Regions from separate parts of the Homo sapiens genome. Here region 1 is linked to region 2. The links are contacts of gene promoters, found by promoter capture Hi-C in human tissues and cell types (Jung and others, 2019). All regions are on one chromosome and are shown on one strand. Each heading gives the region's core, a stretch centred on a gene start or on the middle of the fragment in contact. The rest is flanking DNA. Distances are from core to core; before and after follow the strand shown. Region 1 has its middle 46 kb from the start of UGT2B17. Region 2 holds the start of UGT2B15 (UDP glucuronosyltransferase family 2 member B15).

What was found. The method cuts DNA at HindIII sites, captures the fragments that hold promoters and counts their contacts. A contact is called where the count stands out against the background at its distance.
Region 1: a contact is called between a fragment that was not itself captured here and the fragment with the promoter of UGT2B15 in region 2, in 2 of the 25 tissues and cell types used here (dorsolateral prefrontal cortex and mesenchymal stem cells).

Annotation. Positions count from the first base shown.
Region 1 is chr4:68,620,646-68,624,370 of GRCh38, reverse strand. No RefSeq gene overlaps it. Among named protein-coding and RNA genes, the nearest start is that of UGT2B17, 46 kb to the right of the region's middle. The HindIII fragment of the contact is 5,524 bases long and covers 1-3,725 here.
Region 2 is chr4:68,668,610-68,671,986 of GRCh38, reverse strand. UGT2B15 (UDP glucuronosyltransferase family 2 member B15) reads left to right here and starts at 1,335. Exons shown (of 6, transcript NM_001076.4): 1 at 1,335-2,092. The coding sequence starts at 1,369. The HindIII fragment of the contact is 11,998 bases long and covers 1-3,377 here.

The sequences.
Region 1 (3,725 bases), core at 982-3,481, 49 kb after region 2:
AATTTTTGTGTCGGAAGAAAAGACATATGCAATGAGATAAAAAGATTTTATATAAACATAATATATGTACATTGAGTTATATAAATAGAATAAAACCATAATGAAAGCACACAGATTTTATAAATGAAATTTATTTTTTTCTAAATTTTCATAATTTCACAAAATTTCTTACATTGATTTTATATTATTCTGATAAAGATGTCACAGAATGAGATCAGTGATGAATCTATTAACAGCCATTTCATTACTTCAATATTGGGTGGATGAAGAAGACTCTAAGCAGTGAGCTTGTGAGACCAAACATTGAACATGTCATATTAAATGTGGCTACAGATAACTTCAATTATACAGAGTGCTCAGGTGTCCCATGAATCACCTGGAATAATAATGTAATGACTGCTATTAAAACTGATGTCTTAAGGTTAAAATTATGCTGTTGAAAAATACTTGTCAATAGATGATCTGCATGGACAAAGTCAGATTTTTACTTTTGTAAACAGTAGTTTTAAAAAGAATGTTTACCCCAATGATTAGGATCTGAAAGTATGTTTGCATTGGAAAGGGAACACCATTATTTTACAGAGAGAGAAAAAAATGCATTTTTTAAAAAAGGAATAGCAGCAAAATGATAAGCACATAATTTTGACATAATAGTCACAAAACTTTTGACTTTACGTTTCTTTATTAAGTTTTTTTTTTTTAACTTATAGTTTAGGTTCAGGGGTAAAAGTGCAGGCTTCTAATATAGCTGATCTCCTGTCACGGGAGTTTGCTGTGCAGACTACTTCATCACCCAGGTACAAAGCCTAGGACCCAATAGTTATTTTTTCTGATCCTATTCTTCTCCCCAACCCTCCACCCTCAAGTAGACCCCAGTGTCTGTTGTCTCTTTGCATCCATGTGTTCTCATCAGTTAGCTCCTCCTCATAAGTGAGTACATGCAGCATTTGGTTTTCTGTTCCTGTGTTAGTTTGCTAAGGATGATGGTCTCCAGCTCCATCCATGTGCCTGCAAAGTACATGATCTCAGTCTTTTTTATGGCTGCATAGTATTCCATGGTGTATATGTACCATATATTCTTTATCCAGTCTACCACTGATGGGCATTTAGGTGATTCCATATCTTTCCTATTGTGAACAGTGCTGCAATGAACATAAATGTACATGTGTCTTTATGGTAGAATGATACATATTCCTTTGGGCATATATCCAGTAATAGGACTGCTGGGTCAAATGGTAGTTCTGCTTTTAGCTTTTTGAGTAATCACCACACCTCTTTCCACAATGGTTGAACTAATTTATACTTCCACCAACAGTGTATAAATGTTCCCTTTGCTCTGCAACCTCACCAGTATCTGCTATTTTTTGACTAATTATAGCCACTCTTACTTGTGTGAAATAGTATCTCACTGTGGTTTTGATTTGCATTTATCTAATGATCAGTGGTATCTCACTGTGGTTACAATTTGCATTTCCCTAATGATCAGTGATATTGACCTTTTTGTTCATATGCTTGTTGGCTGCTTGTATATCTTCCTTTGTAACGTGTCTATAGTGATGAACCAAGATGGCTGAACAGGAACGGCTCTGGTCTGCAGCTCCCAGCATGATCAATGCAGAAGATGGGTGATTTCTGCATTTTCAACTGAGGTACCTGGTTCATCTCACTGGGACTGGTTGGACAGTGGGTGCAGCCCACGGAAGGCAGGCTGAAGCTGGGCGGGGCATCGCCTCACCCCGGAGGTGCAAGGGGTTGGGGGATTTCCCTTTCCTAGCCAGGGGAAGCCATGACAGACTCTACCAGGAAAATCAGGACACTCCCACCTTAATACTGCACTTTTCCAATGGTCTCAGCAAATGACACACCCAGGAGATTACATCCCATGCCTGGCTCAGTGGGTCCCATGCCCATGGAGCCTTGCTCACTGCTAGCACAGCAGTCCAAGATCCAACTGCAAGGAGGCAGACTGGCTGGGGGAGGGGCATTCGCCATTGCTGAGGCTTGAGTAGGTAAACAAAGCAGCCAGGACGCTTGAACTGGGTGGAGCCCACCACAGCTCAAGGAGGCCTGCCTACCTCTGTAGACTCCACCTTTGCTGGCAGGGCATAGCTGAACAAAAGGCAGCAGAAGCTTCTGCAGACTTAAACATCCCTGTCTGACAGCTCTGAAGAGAGCAGTGGTTCTCCCACCATGGTGTTTGAGCTCTGAAATGGACAGACTGCCTCCTCAAGTGGGTCTCTGGCCCCTGGGTAGCCTAACTGGGAGACACTTCTGAGTAGGGGCCAACTGACACCTCATGCAGCCAGGTGCCCCTCTGAGATGAAGCTTCCAGAGGAAGGATCAGGCAGCAATGTTTGCTGTTCTACAATACTTGCTGTTGATCTTTTCAAAAAACCAGCTCCTGGATTCATTGATTTTTTTGAAGGGTTTTTTTGTGTGTCTCTATCTCCTTCAGTTCTGTTCTAATCTTAGGTATTGCTTGCCTTCTGCTAGCTTTTGAATGTGTTTACTCTTGCTTCTCTAGTTCTTTTAATTGTGATGTTAGGGTGTTGATTTTAGATTTTTCTTGCTTTCTTTTGTGGGCATTTAGTACTATAAATTTCCTTCTACACACTGCTTTAAAGGTGTCCCAGAGATTATGGTATATTGTGTCTTTGTTCTCATTGGTGTCAAAGAACATCTTTACTTCTGCCTGCATTTTGTTATTTACACAGTAGTCATGCAGGAGCAGGTTGTTGAGTTTCCATGTAGTTGTGTGGTTTTGAGTGAGTTTCTTAATCCTGAGTTCTAATTTCAGTGTACTGTGGTCTGAGAGACAGTTTGTTGTTATTTCTGTTCTTTTACATTTGTTGTGGAGGGCTTTACTTCCAACTATGTGGTCAGTTTTGGAACAAGTGTGATGTGGTTCCAAGAAGAATGCATATTCTGTTGACTTTTGGGTGGAGAGTTCTGTAGATGTCTATTAGGTCTGCTCGTTGCAGAGCTGAGTTCAAGTCCTGGATATCCTTGTTAACCTTCTGTTTCATGGATGTGTCTAATATTGACAGTGGGGTGTTAAAGTCTCCCTTTACTATCGTGTGGGAGCCTAAGTCTCTTTGTAGGTCTCCAAGGACTTGCCTTATGAATCTGGGTGCTCCTGTATTCAGTGCATATATATTTAGAATAGTTATCTCTTCTTGTTGAATTGATCCCTTTATCATTATGTAATGGCTTTCTTTGTCTCCTGATCTTTGTTGATTTAAAGTCTGTTTTATCAGAGACTAGGATTACAACCCCTGCTTTTTTTTGTTTTCCGTTTGGTTGTTAGATCTTCCTCCAACCCTTTATTTGAGCCTATGTGTGTCTCTGCACGTGAGATGGGTCTCCTGAATATAGCACACTGATGGGTCTGGACTCTATTCAATTTGCCGGTCTTTGTCTTTTAACTGGGGCATTTAGCCAATTTACCTTTAAGGTTAATATTGTTATGTGTGAATTTGATCCTGTCATTGTGATGTTAGCTGGTTATTTTGCCTGTTAGTTGATGCAGTTTCTTCCTAACATCAATGGTCTTTACAATTTGGCATGTTTTTGCAGTGGCTAGTACCAGTTGTTCCTTTCCATATTTAGTGCTTCCTTCAGGAGCTCTTTTAAGGCAGTTCTGGTGGTGACAAGATCTCTCAGTATTTGCTTGTCTGTAAAGGATTTTATTTCTCCTTCACTTATGAAGCTTAGTTTGGCTGGAT
Region 2 (3,377 bases), core at 86-2,585:
CCTCTGTAAACAGTAAGTGTCCCAGTCTGTTGTGACTGCTATGTAGTACCTGGATGGCCTATTTCTTGATCTTCAGGGGTACATCTCTTCCAGCCAGGGTAAGTGTCTTCTGGCCGGCTCTCTTCCTGCTTCTGCTATCTTGCTGACACACGCTGCTGATGCAAGTGGTCTTGCATCTTGGGGCTGGGCCTGAGAAGGGAGGAGTTACTCATCCCTTCAAGCCTTCAGGTCCTGAGGAGAATCTTTGAACCCCCTGCATCACTGGCCACCCTCCTGATAGATCCCTGTGATGCCAGGCAGGAATGAGCCGCTTGGGTATCCAGAGAGCTCCCAGTGCCTTTCTGCTACTTCCTCTACCCCTGTATTTTGCTTGGCTTGGTTCTCTAATTTGACTCAGCTTCACATAAAGTCAGGAACTTCTCCTGCAAACAGAACTTCAGCTTCTCCAGTGGGGATGTGTATTCTGGAGAGGGGGATCACCCTTTCCCACTTCCATTGTTGGGGCACTCACAGTGTTTGGGATGTCTCCCAGGTCCTGCAGGAGCAGTACTCTTCCTGCAGAGGGTGTGTGGATCCTCTCAGAATTGCTGGTCTGTTCTTGCAGTTGATCTGCAGCTAAAATTCACAATGCAAGCCTCTGCATGCTGCTCTGTCTGGAGCTGCAATCTAGTCCTGCATCCCATCTGCCATGATCACTGGAAAACCCTCATTTATTTTTTAAAGGGTCCAGAAAATGCTAATCTATAGAGATAGAAATTAGATTAGTGGTTGCCTAGGGTAGGATGGATGCAAAATTTCAGAGTGGGGGGTTAGAGGCTATTGTATAGAATCTTTTGGAGATAATACTGATTATTGTAGTGGATGTAAAATTCTGTGAATATACTAGGAAACATTGAACTGTACACACTAATTGGTGAGTCATATGGTATATGAATTATGTGTCAACAAAGTTTTAGAAGACATTACTTGCACCACGATATTAAAAAATGCCGTTTGAGTTGTATAATTACTTCTTCTCTCTATGTCAAGGGCACCGAACAGGCAGGAGCCTCTCACTTGCCACTGTTCTTAACAGTATTATAAAATAATTACATAAGACAGGTTACTTACATATTCTAGGTCATAAAAATTATTGCTTGACTAGAGTAATTGTAAACATAAAAGAACACCAAACACACTAAAATAAATATGAGGTCATCAATCTTTTGTTGGTCTCCTTGGCATGCACCTATTCAGACTGTTAGTATTATGTATTTACTTCAAATTTTAGCAGTTATATTTTAACTTGATTGATTTTTCCTCAGATATAAGTATGAGAAATGACAGAAAGAAACAACAACTGGAAAAGAAGCATTGCATAAGACCAGGATGTCTCTGAAATGGACGTCAGTCTTTCTGCTGATACAGCTCAGTTGTTACTTTAGCTCTGGAAGCTGTGGAAAGGTGCTAGTGTGGCCCACAGAATACAGCCATTGGATAAATATGAAGACAATCCTGGAAGAGCTTGTTCAGAGGGGTCATGAGGTGACTGTGTTGACATCTTCGGCTTCTACTCTTGTCAATGCCAGTAAATCATCTGCTATTAAATTAGAAGTTTATCCTACATCTTTAACTAAAAATTATTTGGAAGATTCTCTTCTGAAAATTCTCGATAGATGGATATATGGTGTTTCAAAAAATACATTTTGGTCATATTTTTCACAATTACAAGAATTGTGTTGGGAATATTATGACTACAGTAACAAGCTCTGTAAAGATGCAGTTTTGAATAAGAAACTTATGATGAAACTACAAGAGTCAAAGTTTGATGTCATTCTGGCAGATGCCCTTAATCCCTGTGGTGAGCTACTGGCTGAACTATTTAACATACCCTTTCTGTACAGTCTTCGATTCTCTGTTGGCTACACATTTGAGAAGAATGGTGGAGGATTTCTGTTCCCTCCTTCCTATGTACCTGTTGTTATGTCAGAATTAAGTGATCAAATGATTTTCATGGAGAGGATAAAAAATATGATACATATGCTTTATTTTGACTTTTGGTTTCAAATTTATGATCTGAAGAAGTGGGACCAGTTTTATAGTGAAGTTCTAGGTAAGTCATGTGTCTAACTGGTGCTTATTAAGTTCTAACTTTTCTGTGCCTTTGAAGGTGAGCTTATATAAATATAATGTCAGAAGATAGTGTTTTTAAGGGAAATTATGAATTGCAAATGTAAGATGATCTATCAGTCTCAAAAATATTATAGAATGTTGACCTTATAGAATCAGTTAGAACCCTGGGGCCATCACTACTACAGGACACCCAGAGAGTCATAAACCTTCATTGTAAAGCACTAATGATTTCTTTAAACTATCACATATCATTTTGCTATACATTTTTTCATCTTTAAAAAAAGTCAATAGATACCTCAAGAAACATCTTCATGAAGGCAGACACATAAATTTAGTATTTACACATATTTCTAGAAAAATTATCAATGCAGGATTGAGGAATTTGTTTCTCTTTGAGTTCCTCAGTTTCCTCATTTAGAAATTAAATTTTGTTTTTCATGTAAGAAGGATTCCTTCACAGTTGAGTAATATAGTGGCTCTACTCCAGAAACAGAAGCCTAAAACTTGAGATTTCTAATGTTTATACATTCCTTCAATAACAGGTTGACAATTATTTCTTTCAAAAACTGAAATCTTGTTGAAAGTGAACATCTAAGTTTTAATCTATATTTTATTAAACTGCATCTCTCCATCAAAGAAAATAGGGGCCAAATTAAGGGAGAGCACATATCTCTATGTCAATAAATTCTGAAAATGTTTTAATTCTCATTTGTAAATATATTTATTTTAAAAATCTAATTATATTAAGATCTTAAGATGAACCAAGACAGTAGTAGGTGTAAAGATTTCAGTGTTGAGCTCAAAAAACTCATGGTTTACTTTGAGAACCAAGGATCAAGGGACTAGCTTAATAAACTGTAGACACTAGAGTACTTCCTGGAAAGCTGTTTTCATGGGTAAGGTAAGATGAATTAATTGTGGAACTGAAAGAGTTGTTTAAAGGTATATTTGTTACTATTGCAGCTTCAGAGGGAAGACAAATGTGTATTTAAGTTCATAGTGGCTACATTAGTCCATTCTCACACTGCTGTAAAGAAATACCTGAGACTGGGTAATTTATAAAGAAAAGAAGTTTAATAGACTCAGTTCTACATGACTGGGATGCCTCAAGAAACTTAGAATCATGGTGAAAGGCTAAGGGGAAGCAAGCTTGGATCTTCTCACTTAGTGGCAGGAGAGAGAAGTGCAAGCAGGGGAAATACTAGACACTTATAAAACTATCAGATCTCATGAGAGCTCACTCAATATCATGAGAACAGCATGGA